Linked DNA regions of Homo sapiens: regions 1, 2, 3 and 5 are each linked to region 4. Evidence: promoter capture Hi-C in 16 types of primary human blood cells and fetal thymus (Javierre and others, 2016). All regions are on one chromosome and are shown on one strand. The core of a region is centred on a gene start or on the middle of the fragment in contact, and the rest is flanking DNA. Distances in the headings are between cores, read along the strand shown.

Evidence for each region. The method cuts DNA at HindIII sites, captures the fragments that hold promoters and counts their contacts. A CHiCAGO score of 5 or more calls a contact.
Region 1: a fragment that was not itself captured here is called in contact with the fragment with the promoter of PSMD7 in region 4 in 15 of 17 cell types (naive B cells, naive CD8 T cells, M1 macrophages and 12 more); the score reaches 30.1 in naive B cells.
Region 2: the fragment with the promoter of COG4 here is called in contact with the fragment with the promoter of PSMD7 in region 4 in 1 of 17 cell types (monocytes); the score reaches 6.4 in monocytes.
Region 3: a fragment that was not itself captured here is called in contact with the fragment with the promoter of PSMD7 in region 4 in 5 of 17 cell types (total CD4 T cells, naive CD8 T cells, erythroblasts and 2 more); the score reaches 13.0 in total CD4 T cells.
Region 5: a contact is called between a fragment that was not itself captured here and the fragment with the promoter of PSMD7 in region 4, in 1 of 17 cell types (total CD8 T cells). The highest score is 5.0, in total CD8 T cells.

Annotation. Positions count from the first base shown.
Region 1 is chr16:70,148,076-70,150,775 of GRCh38, forward strand. PDPR (pyruvate dehydrogenase phosphatase regulatory subunit) reads left to right here. Exons shown (of 19, transcript NM_017990.5): 17 at 389-478. Among named protein-coding and RNA genes, the nearest start is that of CLEC18C, 24 kb to the right of the region's middle. The HindIII fragment of the contact is 4,530 bases long and covers 1-2,700 here.
Region 2 is chr16:70,522,158-70,524,857 of GRCh38, forward strand. It overlaps COG4 (component of oligomeric golgi complex 4), which reads right to left and starts at 1,397. Exons shown (of 19, transcript NM_015386.3): 1 at 1,216-1,397. The coding sequence starts at 1,386. It overlaps SF3B3 (splicing factor 3b subunit 3), which reads left to right and starts at 1,659. Exons shown (of 26, transcript NM_012426.5): 1 at 1,659-1,771. RefSeq lists enhancers at 1,030-1,169, 2,203-2,700. The HindIII fragment of the contact is 1,828 bases long and covers 481-2,308 here.
Region 3 is chr16:70,128,587-70,131,286 of GRCh38, forward strand. PDPR (pyruvate dehydrogenase phosphatase regulatory subunit) reads left to right here. Exons shown (of 19, transcript NM_017990.5): 5 at 198-279; 6 at 373-536; 7 at 1,837-1,958. Among named protein-coding and RNA genes, the nearest start is that of PDPR, 16 kb to the left of the region's middle. The HindIII fragment of the contact is 3,871 bases long and covers 1-2,700 here.
Region 4 is chr16:74,295,364-74,298,063 of GRCh38, forward strand. PSMD7 (proteasome 26S subunit, non-ATPase 7) reads left to right here and starts at 1,451. Exons shown (of 7, transcript NM_002811.5): 1 at 1,451-1,625. The coding sequence starts at 1,552. RefSeq lists enhancers at 684-1,575, 1,366-1,675, 1,576-2,465. The HindIII fragment of the contact is 3,645 bases long and covers 784-2,700 here.
Region 5 is chr16:71,284,022-71,286,721 of GRCh38, forward strand. CMTR2 (cap methyltransferase 2) reads right to left here. Exons shown (of 3, transcript NM_018348.6): 3 at 1-1,918. The coding sequence starts at 1,899. Among named protein-coding and RNA genes, the nearest start is that of CMTR2, 4.0 kb to the right of the region's middle. The HindIII fragment of the contact is 351 bases long and covers 1,153-1,503 here.

The DNA of each region.
Region 1 (2,700 bases), core at 201-2,700, 4.1 Mb before region 4:
GGCAGGCGGCCAGGGTTTGTCTGCTGATTCCCCCAGAGAAGACACTCGCCTTGTCCTCATTGTGCCTGCTACCCTCGACTAACACAAGGACCTGGCAAAGAGGAATATTTTGTGCTTGTCAAGGACTTTCCTCCACTCTCTACCATCAGCTTGGCTAAAACTCCTGAGATGGTAACAGTAGCAAGCAGAGATGTCACATAGGCAGTGCTCCATTCTCTGTGCCTCAGGACCTGGAAGTTAACCACTTTCGGGATGAAATTCTTGCCTTGACGTCTGTCTCCCTCAACAGTAAACAGAGGGTGCAGCACTAATGAAAGGTTTCCCCAGGCGTCCCTCCCTTGACAAGTAATGTGAGTGCCCAGGCTGACTGCTGCCTTTGTCCCTGCAGGAGATGAGTGTGGGCTATGCAAATGGGATCCGGGTGATGAGCATGACGCACACAGGAGAGCCAGGATTCATGCTCTACATCCCCATAGAGGTGAGAGGGCACCCTTCCCTTCCCTTCCCTTCACTTCCCTTCCCTTCCCTTCCCTTCCCTTCCCACAACCACTGTGGGGTGCCAGTGCTCCCAGCAGCGCGTTCACCAGCACTGGCAGGTTTGGAGAGCTGTATCTGATTGGGCCTTGGGAGCTGAGGTAGGCTGCATTGAAGAGATTTGACCATTTTTAACTAAGTTATATAAGTTTTTTTGAATAGGTGATACATTTAAAAAGTATTTGGCGCCGTCTGATCTGTTCTCACCAACTGTCACCAATAATATTAGTATTACTTTTATATGTCATTTCAGATTTGTATGCATATTGCAAGCAAATTCATAATTAATTTTTTTTTTTTTTTGAGACAGGGTCTCACTCTTTTGCCCAGGGTGGAGTGCAATGGCATGACCGTGGCTCACTGCAGCCTCGACCTCTTGGGCTCAAGCCACCCTCCCACCTCCGCCTCCCGAGTAGCTGGGACTGTAGGCATGTGCCACCATGCCTGGCTAATTTTTGTATTTTTTTGTAGAGACAGGTTTTGCCATGTCGCTCAAGCTGGTCTCAAACTCCTGACCTCAGGTGATACACCCACCTTGTCCTCCCAAAGTGCTGGGATTATAGGTGTGAGCCACCATACCCAGCCAAGCCCCCTTTTTAAAAACAGAAATGGAAGCATACTGCTATTCTTCATCCTGTTTTTTTTTTTTTCACTTCACAATTTTTTTTTTAATTGAGGCAGAGTCTCACTCTGTCACCTAGGGTGGAATGTAGTGGCATAATCTCAGTTCACTGCAACCTTCGCCTCCCAGGTTCAAGTGATTGTCCTGCTTCAGCCTCCCGAGTAGCTGGGATTACAGGTGCACGCCACCACGCCTGGCTAATTTTTGTATTTTTAGTACAGACGGGGCTTCACCATGTTGCCCAGGCTTGTTTCCAACTCCTGACCTCAAGTGGTCCACACACCTCAGCCTCCCAAAGTGCTGGGATTACAGGCATGAGCTACCATGCCCGGCCTCACTTCACAATTTCTCTTAGAGCTCTTTCTTTGTTGGTACCTAAAGCAAAAGAGCTTCCTTGTTCTTTTTTTCTTTATTTTTTAACAGTGGCGTAGCATTCCATTGTGGTACATCATTCCGATACTAATAGACATTTATGTTATTTCTAGTCTTTTGCTGTTATAAAAAGGTCTGCAGGCTGAGTTCAGTCTAATCATATGCAAATAGTAATAGTTTCTTCCTTCTCCAGAACCTTTTTTTTGAGACGGAGTCTCACTCTGTCGCCCAGGCTGGAGTGCAGTGGCGCAATCTCGGCTCACTGCAAGCTCCGCCTCCCGGGTTCACGCCATTCTCCTGCCTCAGCCTCCTGAGTAGCTGGGACTACAGGCGCCTGCCACCACGCCCGGCTAATTTTTTGTATTTTTCATAGAGACGGGGTTTCACCGGGTTAACCAGAATGGTCTCGATCTCCTACCTCGTGATCTGCCAGCCTTGGCCTCCCAAAGTGCTGGGATTAGAAGCGTGAGCCACCGCACCCGGCCGGCTTTTTTTTTTTTTTTTCTTTTTTTTTTTTGAGATGAAGTCTCACACTTGTCCCCCAGGCTGGAGTGCGATGACATGATCTAGGCTCACCGCAACCTCTGCCTCCCGGGTTCAAGTGATTCTCCTGCCTCAGCCTCCCGAGTAGCTGGGATTACAGGCGCCTGCCACCACACCCGACTAATTTTTGTATTTTTAGTAGAGACAGGATTTCACCATGTTGGCCAGCTTGGTCTCGAACTCCTGACCTTAGGTGATCCACCCACCTCGGCCTCCCAAAGTGCTGGAATTACAGGCGTGAGCCACCGCACCCGGGCCCATAGTCTTTCTTCCTATAATTTCCTTCCTTTGTTCTATTGTGACAGGTAGCAATCAATGATTGTAGGCATGCTTGTTTTCTTCTTGATGTTAGTCATACTACTTGTAGTGATAGGTTTTCTCTTAATTTTTTTTTTTTTTGTGAGACAGGGCATTGCTCTGTCACCCAGGCTGGCTTACTGCAGCTTGACCTCCGAGGCTGAAGTGATCCCCCTGCCTCAGCCTCCTGAATAGCTGGGACTACAAGCATGTGCCAACATCCCCAGCTAATTTTTTAATTTTATTTTTGTAGAGGCAGGGTCTTGCTATGTTGCCTAGGCTGGTCTCAGACTCCTGGACTCTAGTGATCCTCTCACGTCAGCCTCCCAAAG
Region 2 (2,700 bases), core at 147-2,646, 3.8 Mb before region 4:
CGGCTAGTTTTGTATTTTTAGTAGTGATGGTTTTCACCATTTTGGTCATGCTGGTCTCGAACTCCTGACTCAGGTGATCCTCCCGTCTTGGCCTCCCAAAGTGCTGGGATGGCAGGCGTGAGCCACCGCGCCCCGCAAGATACTAAATTTTAAAACACATCTTGCTGAGGCCAGACAAAAAAAGCCCCACACACTAAACTAGCCAGGCACGGTGGTGTGCGCCTCTGGTTTCATCCATTCTGATTGCAGCACAACAGCACTCCAGCCTGCGCAACAGAGAGCGGCCCTGTTTCTAAAAATAACAAAACAAAACAAAAAACACCACACACATCTTGCTGAAAAACGTATCAGAAACTGCTAGAGTTAGTGCAAGTTTATACTTGAAAATACTCAAAGATATCAACGATCACCTCTCCCTCAGGCTGAAACTGCCTTTTGTGCTCAACTTTGCTAGAAGTTTGGTCTGGGAAACAGCTGACAAGCTTAGAGCTTAGATCTCTTTTGACTAGCAAGGAACCCAACTGACATTCGAAAGTGAATTGACAGCATCGAGTTGCCACTGAAAATTAAAGGAGGCAGGAAATAGAACGTTATGAACTGAAAGGAATTGGAGAATAGTCCACACCCCTCATTTGATAAAATATCAAGGGTACCAGAGATGAAGTGACTTGTCCAAGATTAGAGAATTGTGTCTGAGTCTTAAAAGCTAAACCTCTACAAAGATGTGCATTTGACCAAAACGCTAAAATCACACCCCCAAATCACTCCCCACAAGAGGAAGTCTTAAAACGCTTCAAGAAGTTAATCTGCAAAGGCTTCCCTCTTAAATAACAGGATGAGAGCGTTTCATAATTTGTAAATTAAGCCAATGCAAAAGGGCGCTTATTATTTTGAGAACCAAGCAATTTGGCAAATACTCTCAGACTAACTTTACTCCCGTGGAGAAACTGGTGATCATGGATCAGGGAAATCAACGGGGGTCTAGGGAGGAGAGGCTGCAGATCGCCCAGGTATCAGGGAAGACAAGCTCGGCGCGTCCGACAGCGTGAAAAGAGTTGACAGGACTACTCATATACCCGACTAGCTTCCGCTTCTTTGTTTTCCCGCTTTTTTGTATCCCCCAGCAAGGAGAGTTTCCCACAGCCCGGATTTCCCGACTGAAGGCTCCCACTCTCCCTAGATCCTCCATGAAAAAGAAGAGGCTCGACCCCGCACCTCCTCGCCGCAGAGCCGTTCGTATACAGCCTCCAGCTCCTGCAGCTCTGTCAGGGAGCGAATGAGCTCAGCGGAGATTTCGGAGCAGCGGCCACCTCCCACCCCCTCAGACGGCTGCTGCACCCCTGACAGCTTCGGAGGCGAATCAAGGTCCGCCATCTTGGTCCCCATTCGGCACTTCCGGTCCCGCGAGGCCCCCTCTTCGTTGGCGCCTATTTGGGGCTGCCCACAGAAGTGCCCAATGAACTCTAATGGTTTTTTTTTTTTAAAGTCTACTTCTAAAAACGTATTAATTTTCTATTCTCCTGGAAAAAGCAAAGCAATAAAGCATGTTTAAATAATTTGTAATGCCGTGTGGAAGCAAGACGGAAGCATTTTTTAAAAATTATATATATTCTTCAGGCGCGGATTGGGTGCCTTTTTCCGCCGCGCGCCACCAGAATGTCCCTGTCTTGAGGTCTAATGGCGGACGCCAGTATGTTGGAGTTGGTGGTGGCTTAAGTTTTGAAGGGAGGTAGCATCCGTTGGATATCCACACCATCCTTCTCGCTGCAGGGTAAAAAAACAGCCTGGAGACTTCCCCGGGCCCGGGGAGGCGGAGACCGGCCATATGGAAGGGGGACCCGAGACTTTGGCGGGGGTCACGGGCAGTCTAGGCCCGAGAGGCTGGGGACCAGGAGGAGGTACCGAGGGATGGTTGAGGCGCCAAAACGGCTTCCTGCAGTTATCTCTCGCTTCCATCCACAGTGTGGGAACATATTCTATCTCAAAATAGGGCTCGTGGAGATTGCTTTTAACTTCTGGGGACTCTGAGACGGGGGAGGTGTGACAAGCAGCGGGAGGCATGGATGTCTCCCTCTGGGTAGAGTAAATGGTACACCGAGGGGAAGATAGAAAGATGGAGCGTGTTAAAAGCGTAAATAACGGAAACAGTCTTTAGAGCCAAGACTCCGGTTTGAATTTGTATTTTGGTAGTTGGGCAACTTGTCTCCTCCTCTGAACCTCTATTTTCTCGTTTGCGTAATGGAGGACAGAGTTTAAATGCGATGATGTTTCCTTGGAGGATGGAGAAGATGCAGTGAGCAATCATACAAGCTTTTTGTAATAATGGTAAACAGACGTGGGGGAAGTTTTTTTTGTTTTGTTTTGTTTTGTTTTTGTGACGGAGTCACAGTCTGTCGCCCAGACTGGAGAGCAGTGGCGCGATCTCGGCTCACTGCCATCTCTGCCTCCCGGGTTCCAGCGATTCTCTTACCTCAGCCTCCCGAGTAGACTAGCTGGGATTACGGGCGCGTGCCACCACGCCCGGCTAATTTTTCTTTTTTTGAGACGGTGTCTCGCTTTGTCGCCCAGGCTGGAGTGCAGTGGCGCGATCTCTGCTCACTGCAAGCTCCGCTTTCCGGGTTCACGCCATTCTCCTGCCTCAGCCTCACGAGTAGCTGGAACTACAGGCGCCCGCCACCGCGCCCAGCTAATTTTTTGTAT
Region 3 (2,700 bases), core at 133-2,632, 4.2 Mb before region 4:
GGCATGGAGCCTTAGTGCATCTGAAGTTCTTAAAATTTTGCATAGAAGCTCAGAGAAGCTGATTTACCTGCCCAAGGATATTGAGTGGCAGTCCCAGGATTCATCACAGGTCTTCTAACCTATAATCTAGTGGATTTTCCACTCTCCTGTCCTACATTTGGTCTGATCTGTCTCATTTGGGCTCATTTTTCTTACAGGTTACACAAGGACAGGCTCAATCTTTCTGGCCCAAACTCAGGACCGACTGATCTCCCTGAAGCGCATCAACGCAGGGCTGAAGTACGTAAGAGTCTAGAAGCGTGTCCTGACTTTACCACACTGGCCTCTGCCAAAGAGCCTGTGAATGTCATTGTCCCTTGTGTTCTGTGGCAGTGTTATAGGTATCCCTTCTGAGATCATCTCCCCCAAGAAAGTGGCCGAGCTTCACCATCTCCTCAACGTGCACGACCTGGTGGGGGCCATGCATGTTCCCGAGGATGCAGTGGTGTCTTCCGCTGACGTGGCTCTTGCCCTGGCAAGTGCTGCCTCCCAAAATGGTGAGCAGGTTTTTGCATTTTCTTAAGATAGGTTAGCAGGGAAGACATTACCTAAGGAAGTGTCTCACAATAGGAAGTGACACCAACTCAAGTTTGGAAAGATTATCCTCTTTGGGGTACTCAGCCTCCATTTTGAACACTTATAATTTTATTTATCTGTTAATGAGTGTTTTCCCTCAGGGCCACATTTTTAAAGTTCTAAAGAACTGCTTTTAGTGCTAATTAATGCCCCTTTTTTGGAGACAGAGCTTCACTCTTTTCGCCCAGGCTGGAGTGCAATGGCACAATCTTGGCTCACTGCAACCTTCGCCTCCTGGGTTCATGTGATCCTCCTGCTTCAGCCTCCCGAGTAGGTGGGACTACAGGCGTGCCCCACTACACCCGGCTAATTTTTTTGTGTATTTTTAGTAGAGACGGGGTTTCGCCATATTGGCCAGGCTGGTCTTGAACTCCTGACCTCAGATGATCCACCTGCCTCGGCCTCCCTAAGTGCTGGGATTACAGGCGTGAGCCACTGTGCCCTGCCAATTAATGCCCTTTGGACTTAAGGTAATATTTTCCGCCACAGGACTTGAGAAGCTCAAGGTGAAAACACACCTTGGAAGTTTAATCCACACCTGAAATCATGAGCCCAGTTGCATTGAATGAGGGGAAGACTTAACTAGCGTCCAGGGTATCATATCCATGGTATGAGCAGGTTAGCACTTAAGGCGCACTATTTACATCCTCTCCTCTCTGCTCCATAGTTTATGATTCCAGGAATTTAATTATTGTGTTCCAAAGTCTGTTTTTAAACTGAGTTGCTATTTTCAATCTTGAACAAGGCCCATTTACATAGTCTCAGGATGTGATTCTAGGGTTTTGTGTTTTTTTTAAATGAAAGCATTGAGCCGGGCGTGGTGTCTCATGCCTGTAATCCCAGCACTTTGGGAGGCCAAGGCAGGCGGATCACCTGAGGCCAGGAGTTCAAGACCAGGCTGACCAACATGGTAAAACCCCATCTCTATTAAAAATACTAAAATTAGCCGGGCATGGTGGTGCATGCCTGTAATCCCAGCTACTTGAGAGGCTGAGGCAGGAGAATTGCTTGAACCCAGGAGGCAGAGAGCGAGCCAAGATCGCACGACTACACTCCACCCTTGGCGACAAAGCAAGACTCCATCTCAAAAATAAAATAAAAAAATAAATTAAAGCATTGACTTGACTTTGTCAGTGTTTCTTCTGGGTGGAGAACCTGCTGCACATGCCTTCATTCTGGAACATCAGATGAAACACCAACTCTTTCTTTACCTTGGAACAGGTGTTCAGATCTATGACCGGACATCTGTTCTTCATGTAATGGTCAAAAAAGGTCAAGTTACTGGAGTGGAGACCGATAAAGGACAGATTGAATGCCAGTATTTTGTCAACTGTGCTGGCCAGGTAGGTCAGCACCAACACTGCTGTTCTTATTTAACGTTTGTCTCCAAGATTTTTTTGGTGTAGAGAAGTAAGATTAGTATTGTGATTGGTTATACAGATATCAGTAACTACGCTGTTTCTTGTAGGGTATTCTAAATCAGAAACCTACACTTAGTCTGCAAATAGAAGCCTGTGTGACCTTGTCCTTCCTCCACACTGGGTTGATGGGTGCTATCCTGGTCAGGAAGGCCAGCAAATGGTCAGGCATTGACGTGAATCCTTGGCACTGGGTCTTGATGTTACATTTCATTCTATAACCTAGCAAATAACATATTAGGCTATTTTATTGTGTCAGGAATGTGGACACTAATTTCCAGGACACTGCTTCTTTTAAAGCAGATTGGCTCTTGCCTTCCATGCTATGATCCCGAAGTGAACTAAGAAATACTTTTGCCATGTGAAGTTCATTTAGTGATTGCTATTTGGGGTTTGTAGCTGAGCCCAGGCGTTTTATCAAAAGGACCTCCTTTGGTTCCCATGAGCTCCTTTGACTAGCTGGTAAATATCTCTTCCTTTGATCTCAAAGTAATTTTTATGTCTTAAAAAATGTAGTATTGCTCCCCATCCAAATAATTGAACTAAAGCAGGCTGACTTCCCACACCTGACACTGTAGCAAGAGCACACATAAGCCACTTGGAATTAATCTCAAGAGGCTGAACTTGCTCATTTTTATTTCTGTTCCTCTTCCCACCCACAAATCAA
Region 4 (2,700 bases), core at 201-2,700:
CCTGGTGATTTGTAAGCATATCAAAGTTTGAGAAGCATTAATTAAAAGGATTAAATATTTGCGTCTGAACCAGGGCTGGCATATTATAGGCACTCAATAGATTCAATAATTCTTAGTTTTCTTTCCCCATTAACATAACCCTTATATCTTTCTAGTTATAATTAAGAATGAATGGCCAGGCACAGTAGCTCACACCTGTAATCCCAGCAGTTTGGGAGGCTGAGGTGGGAGGATTGCTTGAGGCTGGGGGTTTAAGACCAGCTTGGACAACATAGTGAGACACCAACTGTACCAAAAAAAAAAATGAAAAAATAAAGATAGCATTGAGTCTCTTCAATTAATTATGAATATTAAGCATATCCTGCCATTTACTTCCTTGCAGATCTAGCAGAAAATCTGAAAATAAAGCCAAGTTGCAGACAGAAGACAAAGATAAATTCACATGCAGACAAATTCAAACTCCTGACTACATTAATGTCTCTCATTGGTGGCCAAATTTCAGTCTAATCTTTGCTAATGTTTTTCACCACCCACAAATAAGAGAGACTGAGTGTGTCCCTTGACATTTGGAGATCAGGAAGTCCACCTTAAAAAGACAAGAGGCCAAAATGTTGGGAAAATCCTCTGGTGATAAAGGGAAAGCAAAAATTGTTTAAAAACAGAACAAAATATAAGTAAATAATTCAGGTTGCTTAAGTACTGTTTTCGTTTACAGAAACAGCAACTTCAAATGAGACGATATAAACCTGTATGATTTTTCTTATAATTTGCCTCCTGCAAATAAGCTTAAGTCTTTGTCTACCTTAGTCTTCTCTTTCCTAGCTACATATCACAACATACTTCCTTACTGCCTTCCTTCCGTCTTTTCTTCAACGCTTCTGTAAATTTTGATTTCAAAAGCAACGGCACAATTGCGTTCTTCTAGCCCTAGTTACGCAGTAATATAACGACAGGTGGAAACCTGCAGGTTGCCACGTTCATTGCAAAGTGTCCACAGTAAAGATAAAGGAGAAATTCCCCCGGCAATGAAAACGAGAATGAGATAAATTACCAAATTACATTAAAAGCGTGCTCTTATGTTAGAGATTTAAAGTTCCTCTCAGAAATCGCGGAGGATTTTGACCTGAAGCAAAAGTGAACTTCTTCCGGGTGGTAGAAAAGTAAACTGTCAACTATTTACTTTGGGGGGGTGGCGGGGGGAGGGTGCTGGGAAGGAATTGAGGCGAAAAGCCTCTGCAGGTGACGGTACAGGCCAATACCAGGAGGTCAAGTCGCCGGTGTCCCTTCGGCCCTTAAGTCCAGGGAAACGCACGGCGAGGGACGAGGGGCGATTCCCGCCTTTCTCCAGCCCTTTCTCCGCCCACAAATGACGGCGGTGGCGAAGATCCGGGCCCGCCGCGCGAGGCACTCTGGGAGCGGAAGAAGGAGGCCGCGCGAGGGCTGACGAACCGGAAGAAGAGGAACTGGGCCTGAAAGGGTACCGGTGACCGCTACTGCTGCCGGTGTTTGCGTGTGGCAGGGAGCCAGGCCTGGCGAGCGGGGTGTGTCGCGATGCCGGAGCTGGCAGTGCAGAAGGTGGTGGTCCACCCCCTGGTGCTGCTCAGTGTGGTGGATCATTTCAACCGGTGAGCGAGCGCCCTATAGCTGGGCCGGCGGCGCAGCCGCTGCTGAGTCACGGGCACGCTGGAGATGGCGCGGCGGCCGCGGACGAGCTGGGGACGCAGATAGGGCGGCTGGTGACCCTTACTTGTTCACGAGTCCAGACCAGCGTCGGCTCACGATGCCGGAGTCATCCAGCCTCCCGCCCCTGCCCCAGCCGCCGCCACTTCGGGGCCTTGGCTGCCTGTTCCGTTTAGCCTGTTTGTTTTACAGAGTTCCCTTTCCGAGTTCGTTTTGCCGAAGTTCGTTTTACCGAAATCTGGATGATGCTGGGGGTCGGGAGATGCGGCTAGCTTTAGTTGGCCCTGACCCCCGCCCCCAAGCTCGTGTCTGTCACTTCGTTTTGAAGTTCGTTTTGCCGAAATCTGGATAAAGCCAGGGTGGGGCGGAGGCGGGCTAGCTTCATTTGGCTCTGACCCCCGACCCCAGGGTCGTATCTTCATTTGACTCAGTTGATTTCACTGAAATGTGAATAATGCAAAGTGACTGATGTCTGGATGATGCTTGGGTGGGGCGGAGTGGGCTAGCTCCATTTAGCCCCGCCCCAAGGCTATGTTTATCTTCGTTTGACCGAATTGGTTTCACCGAAATATGGATGATGCTGGAGTGGGGTGCAGGGTGGCTACCTTCATTTGGCCCTGACCCCGGCCCCAGGGTCGTATTTATGTTTATCCTCGTTTAACCAAGTTGATTTCACCGAAATGTGAATGATGCAAAGTGAATGATGCCTGGATGATGCCGGAGTGGGGCTAAGGGGGCTAGCTTCAATTTGGCCCTGACCCCCGCCCCCAGGGTCGTATCTATGTTTGTCTTCATTTGACCGAGTTCCTGTTATCGAAATCTGGATGATGCTCAGCACCCCGAAGGGCTTCCTGGATCAGCTGTGGTTTTAACCCATTAACATTTTTAAATGGGAATCTGATTAGACTCCGTCTCAAAAAAAAAAATGTATATATAGATGAGGTTTCAGTTTTTATTTAAAACACGAGGCCGAGCATGGTGGCTCACGCCTGTAATCCCAGCATTTTGGGAGGCTGAGAC
Region 5 (2,700 bases), core at 78-2,577, 3.0 Mb before region 4:
TGAATGTAGAAGGCAGTCCAAAAATAAACGCTGGTAAGTTGGATCTCCATCATGAAGCAATGAACAGCTAAAAGTTGTGAGTTCAGCTGATTCTAGGAGTCGAACTTCCAACGGTATATGCATTTTGATATTACGGAGAGTCGAAAAGCCCACCAGCAGGCACTTTATTTGATTGCTGGGTACTACAACCTGCTCATCCTGAAGGCACTCAGTAAGGCTACACAACTCGGAAAATATCAGTTCTTCAGAAAAAACATGACAAGAACAAGAATACTGCTGTTTTGGCCTAAACTTGGAATCCAAATTAAAAGCTCCTCCTAATGACTTTTCAATTGCTTCATTAAGAGTTTTTAAAATTTCACCATTGCAAAAAGGAGAACATTTTACCTTTGGCAGTTTCTTTCCCTCCAAAATATGCCATAAGTGACACTCAAGATTGGAAGCTGTTCCTTCTAAAATAGAACTCTGCCCAGGATGATATACACCATGTTCTTCAGCCCAACTATTAAAGTATCCTTTGGCTACTTTATCTTTCCATGAAAGGGCTTCTAGCATCTTCCTTTCATTATAAGTTTTAAAATATTTGTTCCTCTGCCCAAACCATTTTGTATTTGTACTACAACCAATACTAGATTTTTTTACTAGCCAATTATTTCTGGAAAGATGTTTCAGTTGAAATTTTTGCATAAAATATTGTATAGCACAATCCCTTAAATTATTCAGCTTTTCTTGTTCCGCCTTTCCCATGCACTCAAATAGACGAATGTTTTCAGAAATAGTCTCTAGCTGATATTTATGAAAGAACACACAACATTCTTCATGTCTCTTAAGAAAAGAATCAGGAATCACATGATGGGGAAAAAGGGCTTTCCTTTTCATTTCAGTCCCAAAATTCAAGGTCATCTTAGATAACAGAGGATGGATGGCCTCTCTCCCCTTATAGTGGAGGCAAACCACATAGACTTCGGAGTTTCCTGCCTTGCTAGTAGCAGGTTTGAAAACATGGACTTGGTCAAAACAACAGTTTAGCAGGTACATCAAGTTTATGGAACAATGTTCAAACATAGTAAACATCTTTAGAACAAAAGAGCCACCGTTTCCAAGAGTGGTCAGAGCAGTGACAACTTCACAGTAATGCAAAGAAGAAACTAAAGCTTCTTGTTCACCTGGGTTTCCTTGGCAATCAAAACTCCCATCTGCAGTGACCAAGTGAACAGTAGCCATGCTGCTTATGAAATTCTGAAGTCCAGTCAAGAATTTCAGGGTCATGATATCACCAGTGTTATCTGGACCAAAGTACCACCAGTGCAAGGTATTTGCAATAAGCCGGTCATCCATAATCATCATGAGGTCGTCATTTGCTTCATGGTATGGATTCAGAGTATTCGCTACCCAACTCCAATGACAAGGAAACCGATGGGATTTTAAGTAGTGGTTGAGACTAGCTATAAAAGCTCCTGGAGCTTCACAAAGGTGTAGAGAATTCAGTTTTCCATTCTGAAAAGCTTCCTGTGGAATAAGTGGAAAGCTGCACAAAATCTCATGGAACTTACACCATGCTTGAGTACAAAGTTCAGCATTCACAGATTTTCTAACATGAGAAATGATTTTCCCCGCTTTATTAGTGAAAGCAGTGTGCTCATGCCACTCATCCAGTTTCTTATCACTCAGTAGGTTTTTTACTTCATTTAGGGAGTTCTTCAAATCAAGAAATGCATTAAGTTCAGTGTGGTCACAGGTGAAAATCTCACTGGGATCTGGTAACTGCCACTCATTATTAAGTGGCTTGCCATAAGAAAAGTTCTTGGCAAAGAGTTCAAAAATGTCAGCAAGAATATCTGGGCTGAATGACGCGGGACTTGCTAGCTGCTGAACTGGTGTCTTTCTGCACTTACTCATTTTCAAATCAAATTAAAATCTAGGAAGAGAAAACACATAATTAAATGAATCAAATTTATTAGTGAGCGAAATCTCATGAGCAGCAAATACGATCACACTCATGACAAACTCCATAAAATGGGAAGGCTAAAGTCAGCATACTCTGTTATTTAACCAAGTAATCTGGAATAATGAAAAAGGCTTTGATATCCAAGACCTGGGTTCAAATTCCAGCTCTGCTAATTATGGCTTAATAAGCACCCTTGGGCAAATTCCATCTCTTGGATTTGGTTTCTTCTCATTAAAAAAAAAAGCCTATCATTTTTTAAGAAGAAGATAAAACATACTAGCATATAAAAAACATATAACAAAGCATAATCATCAGTGAATGACAGCTCTGATTATCATAGTAACCCATCTAACTCTTCCCCAAAGTTCTTCCCTACCAATGACTGTGACAACACCTACATGACCTCAAACAAATCCATCCTTAGAGATTCATCCCTGGACATGACCTTTGTTCAAGCTCTAACATGTGACTTTTCGTTTTTTTTTTTTTTAGTTCCCGTCATACTTTACCTCCTTCAGGGAGAGGATCATGTACCTGAACCCAGTACTGATCCTGCCACAAGCCACTTACCTCACTAGTAGGATTGTTGAATACATCCTCTGTCCAGATTTCATTCTCTAAGACAGGCACTTTGGTGGTACCAATCACCTATACAGGTCATCAACTAACGTTCATCATCATACTGCTTGTAAACTGTGCTGTACTTGAGTGGTTAGCCTTTTTCTGCTTGATGCTGAAAGTGACCAACTGTT